3 separate regions of the Homo sapiens genome follow, and regions 1 and 2 are each linked to region 3. The links are contacts of gene promoters, found by promoter capture Hi-C in blood cells and fetal thymus (Javierre and others, 2016). All regions are on one chromosome and are shown on one strand. The core of a region is centred on a gene start or on the middle of the fragment in contact, and the rest is flanking DNA. Distances in the headings are between cores, read along the strand shown.

Evidence for each region. Contacts are between HindIII fragments. The CHiCAGO score rates a contact against its expected background, and 5 or more counts as called.
Region 1: a fragment that was not itself captured here is called in contact with the fragment with the promoter of ELOVL5 in region 3 in 1 of 17 cell types (activated CD4 T cells); the score reaches 5.6 in activated CD4 T cells.
Region 2: a fragment that was not itself captured here is called in contact with the fragment with the promoter of ELOVL5 in region 3 in 1 of 17 cell types (non-activated CD4 T cells); the score reaches 5.1 in non-activated CD4 T cells.

What each region holds. Positions count from the first base shown.
Region 1 is chr6:52,363,241-52,367,573 of GRCh38, reverse strand. All of the region lies in intron 1 of PAQR8 (progestin and adipoQ receptor family member 8), which reads right to left. Among named protein-coding and RNA genes, the nearest start is that of PAQR8, 3.3 kb to the right of the region's middle. The HindIII fragment of the contact is 1,048 bases long and covers 1,178-2,225 here.
Region 2 is chr6:52,384,749-52,389,599 of GRCh38, reverse strand. All of the region lies in intron 1 of PAQR8 (progestin and adipoQ receptor family member 8), which reads right to left. Among named protein-coding and RNA genes, the nearest start is that of PAQR8, 25 kb to the right of the region's middle. RefSeq lists enhancers at 1-670, 3,306-3,415. The HindIII fragment of the contact is 1,034 bases long and covers 776-1,809 here.
Region 3 is chr6:53,346,682-53,351,217 of GRCh38, reverse strand. ELOVL5 (ELOVL fatty acid elongase 5) reads left to right here and starts at 2,268. Exons shown (of 8, transcript NM_021814.5): 1 at 2,268-2,401. RefSeq lists a silencer at 2,428-2,867. The HindIII fragment of the contact is 17,438 bases long and covers 1-4,536 here.

The DNA.
Region 1 (4,333 bases), core at 452-2,951, 980 kb after region 3:
GAAACCTGAATTCTTTCTGTACATAATAGGTTAAGAAACAAAAGCTGTGTCTGTTTAAAGCACAGTCTTTGGATTTTGACCTAGATCTACCAGTCATGATACTAAGAGTTGACACTTATTGCGATCCTTCTGTGTGTTAAGCATTTCATACACACTCTAACTCACATCTCTTCAGATATGCATCCTATGGATACTCAGATTAAGTAACACACCCAGGGTGGCACAGTTAAGAAATGGTGGTGTCAGGGTGCTAATGCAGGTTTATTTTTACTCCAAATCCCACGCTCTAGCCAAGGGCTTCTCAGCACTACTGATGTTTTGAACCAGATAACTGTTTGTTGTGCGGGGCTGTCCTGTGCATTTTAGGATGGTTAGCAGCATCTCTGGACTCCACTCATTAGATGCCAGTAACATCCCTCCCCCTCCAGGTATGACAATCAAAAATGTCTCCAGACACCACCAAATTTCATCCTCTGGGGGAAAGGGGCAAATTCACCACCCACTTCTCCCCATTAAGAATCACAGCTCCAGGCTGGGCACAGTGGTTTACGCCTGTAATCCCAGCACTTTGGGAGGCCAAGATGGGCAGATCACGAGGTCAGGAGTTCGAGACCAGCCTGACCAACATGGTGGTCAAAAATTACAAAAATACAAAAATTAGCTGGGTGTGGTGGTGCGCGCCTGCAATCCCAGCTACTCAGGAGGCTGAGGCAGGATAATTGCTTGAACCCAGGAGATGGAGGTTGCAGTGAGCCGAGATTGCGCCATTGCACTCCAGCCTGGGTGACAGAGGGAGACTTCATCTCAAAAAAAAAAGAATCATGGCTCCAGTCTAAGCCACAATGTATATTGTTTCCTGGTCCTTTACAAGTACATAAACCGCTACTCAGAAGACAGAGCAAAAACCAAACACAACATTCCAGGAAAGTTTCGTATAGCAATAATACCACCCCATCCTGCAGATATACTTTGTAATTCACTAATTATAGCTATTTTCTCCTTTTATGGCCTCTGAGTACATATTGGGATCTAATTTTGAAAGAGTTAATCCACCTCAAAAATATGAACACTATTGAGAGATCCACCTATTTACCCTTCTTTGAGAAATTGAAGGAAAATATCATGTAGTAAAATCCATATGAATTCTTAGCTCCACAGGCCATTAGGAGAAGAAGCTTTTGTTCCTGCATCATTGTAAGAGAGCACATGATGTGAATGAACTTCTGAAGGGCAAAGCCTGTGTCTCAAGCCTCTCCATCTCCAGCACTTGCTTGCCTAGAACAGAGAATTCTCACTAAATGGTCAACATTTCATGAAACATTAACTATTTCATAGCAGCCCCTAATCATCTGATTAAAATTAAGATGAAACTTTCCCATCTTTCTAATATATGTACATATATATATAAAATAAAATTTATAAACTTGAAAAAAAACTAGTGTTGACATTTACAGAAGAGCTGAGATTTCAGTGCCAGGCTATTCTTCCCTATTGTTTAAAAAACACAGCAGAGCAAAACTCACATTTGGAATGAAGGGAATGTTTACCAGAATCGTCTCTTTCAATACGTGCCAAGAGAACTGTAGCTGTTTCGTTAGAATAATATTTTCATTGGATGAAGGGAAAAAAATTAGAGAAGAGGCTTTTAAACTTTTTTCTTTCAGATTTGCCTTACCACACCAAACTGTTATACATAATATACAATCATAACAGGAATGCTCATTTAAAAAAAAAATCTGAATTCAAAAGAAAGTAACTGGGAGCACTGACTCCACTTATTTGGAGTCTGTATTTCCTCGTTTCTGAATAAATAAAAAATAACTAATTGTCGTTGCTTTTCAGGTTACCCTTTAAAAACTCTTAAAAGACCAGGAGGGCAAAAACCAAAATGTTCTATTTGTAGTTAGTTGCAAAACCTAACTGAAGGGAATATCATTACCTGGGAAATGATAAATTTCCACATGGCTTCAAAGGAATTTTAACATAAGACTATCAATAAATAATATTCCTAACAAGAATAAGTAGACTCTGTTGAGCACTCATGATGTGTCCGGCACCGAACTCAAGTGTTCTACACGCATCAATGTTATTTCATCTTCATCACAGCCCCATGAGGTACATACTCATTAATATCTTCATTTTAAGAAAACTGAGGCCAAAAGAGATGAAACAACTTGCCCCAAACCACAGCTAGATCAAGATTCAAGCTGTGGCTGTATGAAGCTTTATGCAACACAACCTGAAAAAAAAAATGCGAATTTTAAAAAGGGATATGTTCAGTACATTTTTTACTGTGTGCCATGAAATCCCAAAGTTGAAATGAATGTTCAGAAATCATTCTCTTCCCTTTACTTCTGTGGATCCTTTCACATCAAAAATCAAGCACCAGGCATTACCTACAGCTGGGGCAAATGGCTTTCTGGGTACCTTTTTTTTTTTGGTGAGACAACAAGTCTTTTGTATTTTTGTTTTGCTTTCTGTAAAAATCCACAATGACAGAGACTGCCTAGTAACAAGTATCAGGAGGGGCAAAGAAAGGCTTACTTTTTCTAGCCCAATAAGCCATAAGCTATAACAATAAAGTGACAGGACCAATTACTTTACATACATACCAGAGCATAAACACCAAAATGAAGGTTGTGCTTCAAAGTAGTTAAGTTTTTGAGGAGTTAAATGTTGTACTCAAAATTTCCACTGTGGAGATGATGGGAGCCCCTAACCCCGGTGTTATTCAGGGACCAACTGTAATTCCTTCCAATCCTAAATACATACTCCATGCCATTACTAAATGCCCCTTTTAGAACTGCCAGTCTTTCAAGAGAATTTTCATTACTTTAATGAGCATACTTATTGACAACCTCGATTCCCCACCTCGGAAGCCCAAGTTGGCCCCGCACAGTGCCTGGCTGTTTCCCAGCTGAGGAAGGTTTGCCACCACTGAGGCAATCAGGAAATGTGTTGCAAACTCGGAAGGCAACTCCAAAGCAGGAGCTCCAAAATTATTCTCAGTAGTGACAGCATCACTAGAATTAGTACACAGCTTGCCAAGAGCAGGCTTTTGAAGGGGAGAAATACTGATTTGAATGTATAAATACTGGCATATTTATTTTAACATTTGGATAAAGAATTGGAAGCATCAGCAAGTGTTACGTCCAAGTGAATAAGTACACTGCTGCAGGAATGATAGTGCAGATTTTGATGCAAGGTCCTGACCACTCAATAAGGTATACACACACCCTTAATGGAAATATGCTTATCCTGAAATGATTCTTGTAAAATGAATAAATCGCTTTCTATCCTGTTAACTTGCATAATTATTAAAGATTTCCTTTTCATGAATTAAAAACAGACCCAACAAATGCTAGTTGCCAAAATAATCCTTGTTTATCCAATGAAGCTCAAATCTCAGTGTGTGTCAGAAGATGGACCTATATGCACCAGAAGGAAATCTGGTGCATACACACACCCGCAAAAAAAAAAAAAAAAAAAACATATCTTTCAATGGATATATCCACTTAATAAGATTCCTCTACTCTGGGTCTTCCAGAATTGGTTGTTACGCCAAATAACTGAAATAATTACCATACATAATTAACAATACAAGATGGGTTAATGTAAGATAGTCAACATTTAACTAATAATTGAAGGACACGCACCCAAGGACAAACAGCAGAAATAAAAAACAAAAACAAAAACAAAGCCATGCCTTGGTCCTTTGTTTTTAGATACACACTTGGATACTCATCCACTGAGGTCCTAAGCAGTCTGGCTCCCTTCCAGTTGACCTGGTCAAGGGTGCAGCAGCTCAGGGCTGGGTACACGTTGTGGATAACCTTAACAGGGCAGTCAAGGGCAGTCTACCTTCCATGCAGGCAACTCCTATTAACTTCAGTAACAGGAGTCTTCACTGACAAGCAAATACTCCCAAACTGTACAATACTCTCATGTTTAACTCGACTGGAATGCAGTGCGTTTGTGGACATTGTTTGGTGTGTGTATTTGTTGTGGATTTTCCTCGTTTTTACCCAGAAACAGCTTCTCAGAGTACTGGAACAAGTAGTACACACGTGGGTCTAAAAATCACACATACAGTGTATTGTATGAGTTATCCCTAAGGCGCGCACACACACGGGTAGGTATTACCTGTACATTTGAAATCTCACTCCATAACTAATTTTTTTAGCCCAGGCTCTTCTCATTGGGTTCCTGGACAAAATCATTTCTAACCCAGCTAAGAAATATGGAATGCAACTTAGGTCAAGACAATGAGCCTGCCAAGGCTCCTGGACTTCCCACTAGTCTGCCAGTGCCTGGAGCACCCACAGCTGCACAG
Region 2 (4,851 bases), core at 43-2,542, 960 kb after region 3:
CCTTAGATATCTCCAAGGCCTTAGTTCAATTCCAAATCACCACAAAGCCTTCTCCAGGCCATCTTGATTCCTCCCCCGCCCCCAACCCTTATCTATCTATTCCACATATTTTGGTAAGGAGAACATCAGGCTTGCCCATTACTTCACTACTGTGTGTGTAGAGAGCCTTCTCTCTTCTGCTTATTGAATTGCAAGCCTCTGGAGACAGGAACACTGGCTTACCTATGCTTTATTTCTATCAGCAAACAGTCAGAGGAAAGATGTCCCCAGAATGTGTCAATAGATCATTGTTCAAAAACAAAGTGAATGACTATCCTTTGCCTGCTTCTAAAGGTAAAAACCAGTGAGATCTAAGAAAACGAAAATGTGGGTTTTCAAAAGAAAACACCATTTGAGTTGGATCTTATTTATTTGTGTGGTTCATCCACTTGCTAGGTATCCGCACCAATATTTAAATTGCTGGCTGAATTTCTAACCATCAGCTTGTTTTTGGTCTATCATCTCCTACCATTTGTCATTTTTATGACCAAGAATGCCTAAGCAAAGACTTAGGAAAAGGAGGGGCCAGGCAGAGAAACATAATGTAAAATAACACTGGAGCACTGTTAGAACTCGTTTTTATTCTTGTTGCATACAAAAGGCAGAACAGACTGTCCTGATTGCCTGAACAAGCCACACACTTGACATCGCCAATGTTATTGTAGCCTGCTGTGCCTGGCAAAACCCACTTCTCTCTCAAATTCAGGCTCAGATATAACCCCTCCCCTGTGAAGCTTAGCGACAGCCTGAAGTAGAACTCATCATGTCTTATTAAGCCCTCTGTCTTTGTCCATTCAGGGTGCTGTAAGGAAATATCAAAGACTAGGTGGCTTATAAACAACAGAAATCTATTTTTCACAGTTTCTAGAGGCTGCAAAAGTCCAAGATGAAGGCACCAGCAGATTTGGTGTCCAGTGAGGGCCCACTTCTGGTTCAAACATGACTGTCTTCTTGTTATGTCCTCACATGGCAGAAGAGGCAAGGGAGCTCTCCTGAGTTTCTTTTATAAAGGCAGTAATACCATTCATCTAGGCATTCATCTAGGTCAGTGGTCCCCAACCTTTTCAGCACCAGGGACCAATTTCATGGAAGACAATTTTTCCACGTATGGGGGCTGGGGGTTGAGGAGTATGGTTTCATGATGATTCAAACCCATTACATTTATTGCTTTTTTTTTTTTTTCCTGACACAGGGTCTTGCTCTGTTGCCCAGGCTGGAGTGCAGTGATGCCAACTCAGCTCACTGCAACCTCCACCTCCCAGGCTCAAGCCATTCTTGTGCCTCAGCCACCCAAGTAGCTGGGATTACAGGCATGCACCACCACACCTAGCTGATTTTTGTATTTTTAGTAGAGATGGGGTTTCGCCATGTTGGCCAGGCTGGTCTCAAACTCCTGACCTCAAGTGACCCGCCCACCTTGGCTTCCCAAGGCGCTGGGATTACAGGCATGAGCTACCGGATCCAGCCTATTTCTATTATTTTTACATTATAATATATAAGGAAATAATTATACAACTCACCATAATGTAGAATCACTGGGAGCCCTCAGCTTGTTTTACTGCAACTAGACGGTCCCATCTGGGGTGATGGCAGACAGTAACAGATCATCAGGCATTAGATTTTCATAAGGAGAGTACAACCTAGATCCTTTGCATGTGCAGTTCACAATAGGATTGGCACGCCTATGAAAATCTAATGCTGCTGCTGATCTGACAGGAACTCAGGCAGTAAAGCCAGCAAAGCAGAGCGGCTGTAAATACTGATGAAGCTTTGCTTACTCGCCCACTGATCACCTCCTGCTGTGCAGCTCAGTTCCTAACAGGCCACAGACAGGTACTGGGGGTTGGGGGATCCCTGATCTAGGTGATCACCTCCTAACGGCCCCACCCCCTAATATCCTTACATTAGGGGTTAGGATTTCAACATATTAATTTGGGGAGACACTTCAGTTTATAGCATCCTCTTAGCATTATGCTATAACTGGCTATACATGTGTCTTCCTTTATATTAAATTGTGAAATTCATTGGGTTGCATAAGGAAGTTATTCAAAATATTTTTTCAAAGATTTTAGCTTGTGTTACTTGATTGTGAGAATAACTGAGGTACACTGAATTTAAGTGACCTATTCAAAGCCCTAAACCAAATCAACAATAAGGTATGGGCAGACCCCAATAATTCTGACCCGTGTCCCAAGAGTCCAGCCAACTGACTGCGTCTTTGTGAAAGAACATCTATCAGCTGTGAATGAAAAGGAAGTATTAGATGAGAAGATAGTGCTTGTCCATCTCTGAGCTGCTGATGGACTAGGAATCCTGGCTCACTGTAGTGACCCAGGAGCACTATCCAGAGCCTTCTCTCCCAAGACATCCCATCAGGGCTCTTTCCTAAGGGCACCCCTGAAGACCCTGCTCCACTTCCCAGTGTGGCCTTTTCTGTAATTAGAAGTAGTAATTAATAATCAGTTGCAGAGAAGTGAGCCAAGATTGTGCCACTGCACTGCAGCCTGGGTGACAGAGTGAGACTCCGTCTCAAAAAAAAAAATCATTAGTTATTCCATAGAAGAGCTTCATTTGAAAAGTCAATCTACTCAGTTCAGATCAGTAATTGTAAACTATCACAAAGCTACAGCTTTCATCTCCATGATATTACAATTACCTACCTGCCTAACCTGTAGTATCTACAAAGGTTGTGATTGTTTATCACTCAGAATTACTTCATTTTAAAAATTTTTCAACTTTTCTTTTCTATTCAGGAGGTATATGTGCAGGTTTGTTACAAGAGTATATTGCATGATGCTGAGGTTTGCGGTATGACTGAGTCCATCATCCAGGTAGTGAGCATAGTACCCAACAGGTAGTTTTTCAACCTTGCCCCGGTCCCTCCTTCTCCCTTCTTGTAGTCCTGTGTCTATTTTTCCCTTCTCTATGTCCATGTATACCCAATGTTTAGCTCTTACTTATAAGTAAAAACATGTGGTATTTGGTTTTCTGTTTCTGCATTAATTCACTTAAGATAATGTTGCTGCAAATTCTGTTTTACAGCTCCACAGTATTCCATTATGTGTACATACCACAATTTCTTTATTCAATTCACTGTTGATGGGCACTGAGGTTCATTCCTAGGTTGATCTTTGCTATTTTTGAATAGTGCTGTGATGAACATATGAGTACATGTGTCTTTTTGGTAGAACAATTTGTTTTCCTTTGAGTACATACCCAGTAATGTGGTTGCTAGGTCAAATGGTAGTTGTGTTTGGTTCTCTGAGAAATCTCCAAACTGCTTTCTTCAGTGGCTGAAATTAATTTACATTCTCACCAACACTGTATAAACGTTCCCTAACCTCTGCAGCCTCACCAACACCTGTTATTTTTTTTTAATTTAAATAATAGCCATTCTGACTGGTGTGAGATAGTATCTGGTTGTAGTTTTGATTTGCATTTCTCTAATGATTAGTGATGTTGAGCATTTTTTCATATGTTTTTGGCCACTTGTCTGTCTTCTTTTGAGAAGTGTCTGCTCATTTCCTTTGCCCACTTTTTAATTGAGTTGTTTTTTGCTTGGTGATTTAAAGTTCCTTATAGATGCTGGATATTAGACCCCTGCATAATGTATGAATATTTTCTCCCATTCTGTAGGTTGTCTGTTTCCTCTGTTGAAAGTTTCTTTTTTGTTTTGAGACAGGGTCTCACTCTGTCACCTAGACTGGAGAGCAGTGGTGTGATCATGGCTCACTGTAGCCTCAACCTTTCCAGGCTCAGGTGATCCTCCCACTTCAGCCTCTCAAGTAGCTGGGACTACCTGCGCACACCAGATGCCCAGCTAATTTTTTGTATTTTTTTGTAGAGAGTGGGGTTTCACCATGTTGCCCAGGCTGGTCTCAAACTCCTGGGCTCAGGCAATCTACCCACCTTGCCCCCCAAAGTGCTAGAATTCCAGACATACGCCATGGTGCATGGCCAATAGTTTTCCTTTTGCTTTGCAGAAGCTCTTTAGTTTAATTAGGTCTCACTTGTCAATTTTTTGTTTTTGTTGCAGATGCTTTTGAGGACTTAGTTATAAATCTTCCCCAAGGCCTATGTCGAGAAGGGTACTTCCTAGATTTTCTTGAAGGATGTTTATAGTTTGAGGTCTTACATTGTATTAGTCTATTTTCATGCTGCTGACAAAGACATACCTGAGACTAGGTAATTTATAAAGTAAAGAGGTTTAACTGACTCACAGTTCCACATGGCTGGAGAGGCCTCACAATCATGGCAGAAGACGATGGAAGAGAAAAGGGATGTCTTATATGGCAGCCAGTAGAGAGAGAATGAGAGGGGTTTCCCCCTCTCAAGTGAAAGGGGTTTCCCCTAATAAAACCATGAGATCTTGTGAGACTTATTCACTACCACGAGAACAGTATGGGGGACACTGCCCCCATGATCCAATTATCTCCCAACGGGTCCCTCCCACAACACGTAGGCATTATAGGAGCTACAATTCAAGATGAGATTGGGTGGGGACACAGCCAAACCATATCATACATTTAAGTCTTTAATCCATTGTGAGTTAATTTTTGTATATGGTGATAGGTAGGAGACCAGTTTCATTCTTCTGCATATGGTTGGCCAGTTTTCCCAGCACCATTTATTGAATAGGATATCCTTTCCCCATTGTTTATTTTTGTCAACTTTATCAAAGATCAGTTGATTGTAGGCGTGCAGCTTTATTTCTGGGTTCTCTATTCCATTGGTCTGTGTGTCTTTTTTTGTACCAGTACCATGCTACTGTAGCCTTTTGGTTACTATAGCCTTGTAGTATTTTGAAGTTGG
Region 3 (4,536 bases), core at 1,019-3,518:
ACCGTACCAACATGTTTGAGAGGAGTTAATAATCTAATAATCCTGGGATGTGACTATCTGACAGAGGATTGGAACTCTGGAGCTGAAAAGTGATGGTGATGGTGAGGGGGAGTAACTGTTCACAGATTCACTCATCTAACACGTATTTATTGAGCCCTTATATGCCAGGGATTGTACTAAGATCTACAGATCAATAAGGAGCAAAATTCAACATGTTTTCCCCTTCAACGGAGTTTACTACCTAAAGCGGTGGTCTTTAAAGTGGGGTACATATACCCCAAGGATTGAGTGAGATGATGCCATCAGAAAGCAACTACAATACAGGGTGGTGATGCTATAATGGAAACCAAGATACACACATCAACAAAGAACTGTGTAAAAACGCAGCCTTTGGGGGATGGGAAAAAACAGCAAAACGTCATACTTAATCATACAATAAGAAAAATCACTTGATATTTAATGCATAGCTTGACAGTTATATAAGCCTGAACTTAAAGATATTTTGGTCAAATGGGCTTAAAACATTTTATTGATAGGTAAGCACAATTCAAACAAGTGCGGCGTAAAACTTAAGACTTTTGGAATCTCAAGTTAAATTAGAAACTTTTAAAACCTGGAAAGGCAAAACTTAGATGGGATGACAGAGATGAACCCTGGCCTTGGACTACTGGCAGAAGCGTGAAGAATGAAGGAGATATCTCAAAAAAATAGTCTATGCCACCAGCATATGCTTTTCTCATGTCCCTTGATGTCCATAGCAGCATTTACCACTCTGCATTGTAGTTGCTTCCTGACTGTATCATTTTCCAGGCCCAAGAAGTCCTTGAAGGTTTCAAATTTTGAATACCTAACATAGTATCTAGCAAATTGAAGTCATTCAGTGTTTGTGGAGCTCAATGGCAACTGACAATCTCGATTCTTTGTATATGTTTAATTTACTTAATTTGTACATGGTTTGTATACTTGCATTCCTATTGCAATGGCCCACTGCCTGGAACACAGCTGGCACGTGATAAGCATTACATTGTAAATATGTAAAAGAATAAATTTGCCGGCCAGGCTCGGTGACTCACGTCTGTAATCCCAGCACTTTGGCAAGCTGAGGCGAGCGGATTACCTGAGGTCAGGAGTTCGAGACCAGCCTGGCCAACATGGCGAAACCTCATCTCTACTAAAAATACAAAAATTAGTCGGGTGTGGTGGCGCGTGCCTGTAATTCCAGCTACTTGGGAGGCTGAGGCAGGAGAATCGCTTGAACCCGGAAGGTGGAGGTTGCAGTGAGCTGAGATCGCGCCACTGCACTCCAGCCTGGGCAACAGAGCGAGACTCTGTCTCAAAAAAGAAAAAAAAAGAAAAAAAAGAATAAATTTGCCTACATTAAATAGCCGACTGTTAGGTGGATGCACATAGAGGAGTAAGAATACAGCAAGAGGGGCACACGAAGAAAGGCTAAATCTCTGGGGTTTGAATGGGGAAACAGTAGGATACAAAGCTAATGAAGGTCTTTAATTATCCAAATATCAGTGAAAAACAGCAAGGATCTTCCGTTTATGCCCTGAACCCCCTTTGTCTTAAGTGCTTAAATATGCTTAGCTGAAAAGACACTGATTCCATCTTTCCTCATTTAACAATCCTTTAGAATAATTTCTAGAGTAGAAATGGAGTTGATAGTGGCTTCCAAAGAAAAATCAGAATCCCTAAGAAAAATACACGGTAAATCCTTTGCAAGGGAGTTATGGTTACAACAGTTTTGAGTCGTTTTGTTCTTGTTCCTTTATCTTGTTCAACTGCAGACCTTCACTCCGGCGGTCTCCGTGGGCATTTAACCCTTTCAGCTTTAACGATGAAGTGGATCCCCTTCAGCATGACATAACTCATAGAGGAGACCGTAACGAGGGTGGGCTTCTGCCACCCAAATGCGGCCACAGACTCCTGCCACGCCTGGCAGTAAAAAAACCAGAGTTCAGGGCATCGACAACTTCACCGGGGCTATTGCGCAGGCTCTGCGTTCCACGCAGGCTTATTAGGAAGAAAGGGGAAAAAAATTTCCCAGAGACACGTGGAACCGAGGGGCCAACCCCGGCCTAGGCTCTCCACCGCATCGGATTCTGGAATTTACGATCACGAAAGTTCTATTGTCCCGCGATTGGCTCCCGGGCCGCATGACATCATAGCGCTTGATTCATCCTTCGGGTCCCGATTGGCTGGCCGCGCCATTGTGACGTCACGGTCAGCCCACGTTCTGATTGTAGATAGCCGGCGCCTTCCTCTTCCCATCGCGCGGGTCCTAGCCACCGGTGTCTCCTTCTACATCCGCCTCTGCGCCGGCTGCCACCCGCGCTCCCTCCGCCGCCGCCGCCTTGCTGCTGCTCAAAGCTGCTGCCGCCCCTTGGGCTAAAAGGTAAAGCCGTCAGCTCCGGGAAACTTCGTCGGGGGCCGCCGCTCGGCCATGACACCCGCGCGAGCGCGCGGCCGGGAAGCGGTCAGAGAGAACTGCCGTTAGGTCTCGGACCTGGTGCCGAGAAAGAGCTGCCGGGGCAACCCGCGCTCCGCCCGCGGCCTCCAGCTCCGCCGGCTCCGGGGTACAGCCCGGCTCCTCGGGCGCGGGGAAAGGGGTGCGGGTGCGGGCGCGGGCGGCTCGCCCCACGCCGAGGCTGAGGCAGGGCGCTCGGGAGCGTTCTCTGTGCTGCGGTCCCACCTGTGCGCGCTGACAGGCGCCGCGGGGCACGACACCGTGCCCACACCAGACGCGGAGGGATGGATCTGTCCGCCTGGGTCCTCCCGCCCTGCGGGCCGGAGCGCGCGGCGGGAGAGCCGGGGGAGCGCTCTCGGAGGGAGCGCGCTTTCTTTGGAGTCGGCGAAACCCGGGTGAGTTCGAAGAGCCTGTGCGAGGGTCTGCGGGCACCGGGCGCCGCTGGGGGGACTCTCCGGCCTTTCCTTTTTGTCCTGTTCTCTCCGCTTCCGTTAACCCTGCGGACCTTCCGTCCGCCCCTCGGAGGGAAGCCTGCTAGCTCGGGACCGCTTCAGTTTTTATTGAAACCAGACAACGGCAGCCCTTGGTACTCAGGGAGGGATGAGGCTGGTGGGAAAGCGAGAGGGCGGGGACTCGGGGGCGACCGGGGCGGCCCTTTCTGGGAGCCTGATCCCTGGAGAGGCGGGAGCGGTTGGCTGCGAGGGAGGCGCGCGGCGGGGGGGCGGTTGTGCTCTGCGCCGGGGGAGCTAGAGTGTGTGTTGTCTTGCGAGTTGTAAGGAAAAGTGCCTTTTTACTGTTTCCACGCCGGTAAGACTCTCCCACCCCACCACCTCGGGTCGACGGAGCAATGCCTAGAGCAAGAGTTGTTCTTGCTGAACTGCGTCTTGCAACCGTTCCGTGTTCTTGCACTTGGCGGTTCCCCCCGCCCCATCCACAATTGTGAATTAAGCTCCTTGATTGCAAATTTGGAGAATGCATTTGGCCAGTTATGCAAAGTGGCGGAGGTGGCGGGGTCGGGGGCGGGGGGTCTCTTTCGGAAGAATCCAGTGCATGGTTTATTAGCTAGACTGAGGAACCGAGAGGTGCTAGATGGGATTTGTGGGGAGCGAGCAGCCTAATTTGTTTTAAATAGCGGGACCCGTGGCAGGAAGTGCTTCATAGAATTGTACGGAAGAGCTGATGTTGCTTGTCAGGTTTTGTAACTCATTCTCCTAACCGCTTGGCAGATAACCTGTTGGTCTGCACTTGTTTTGCTTGCACGTCTCAGCCAAAAGCATTTCGTGCAGAATCTACAGATAGAAACAGGCGGTTTTGCATTAGATGGCCGTGGACAAACATTTTAGCCTTCCATCTGTGATTGGGGACAAGTGGGTTACTTTTCTGGTAGCTCAGACACTGCCTGGGATTCTCCAGGAAAGCTCTGCACTTGAAAGGGAAATGTTACTCATTTTCCTTTTAGATTTTTACCCTAGATTCTAACTTCTTATTGCCAGGAACTTTTTCTGTACTGTTTCTCTTTTTGCATTTTCGTTTCTATTTCTAATTGAAGACAAAGGGGAAATTTTTATTGATAGTTACAGATAGGTAATGTTACAGAATGTAGTACAGAACTTTGCTGAAAAGCGACAGTAGAAGGCTTACTAAAATTTGATGTTTTTCAAGAAAAATATCTTGTAACTTCAGATATTGACCTCACCTCCTTGACTCAATTTCCTTGTCTATACATGGGGATTTTATGTGGCAGGATCATTGTGGATTTCAAGAGATAATGCAAATGAGAGCCCAGCATTGAGTCTGCCAAATGGTGGTTTGAAAATGTTTCCTTCCCATTCCCTGAAATCAACAGCTTCTTCTTGGTTACAGACCTTAATTTTTGGATGTTCTGTTTGCAAGAATCTTTTTTTCCACTACCTCTTCTTTTGCTCCCTGCATAATGGTTGCTTGTCTTCCTGCTTCTAGAGGTGAGCATCCATCCTTGGGTGTCTTATTTCCAGCTTGAATTACACAAATCAAAGCAAAACTGTTTACTTTTCTTGAGGGTAACTTTGGTGCCTAGGTGGGTA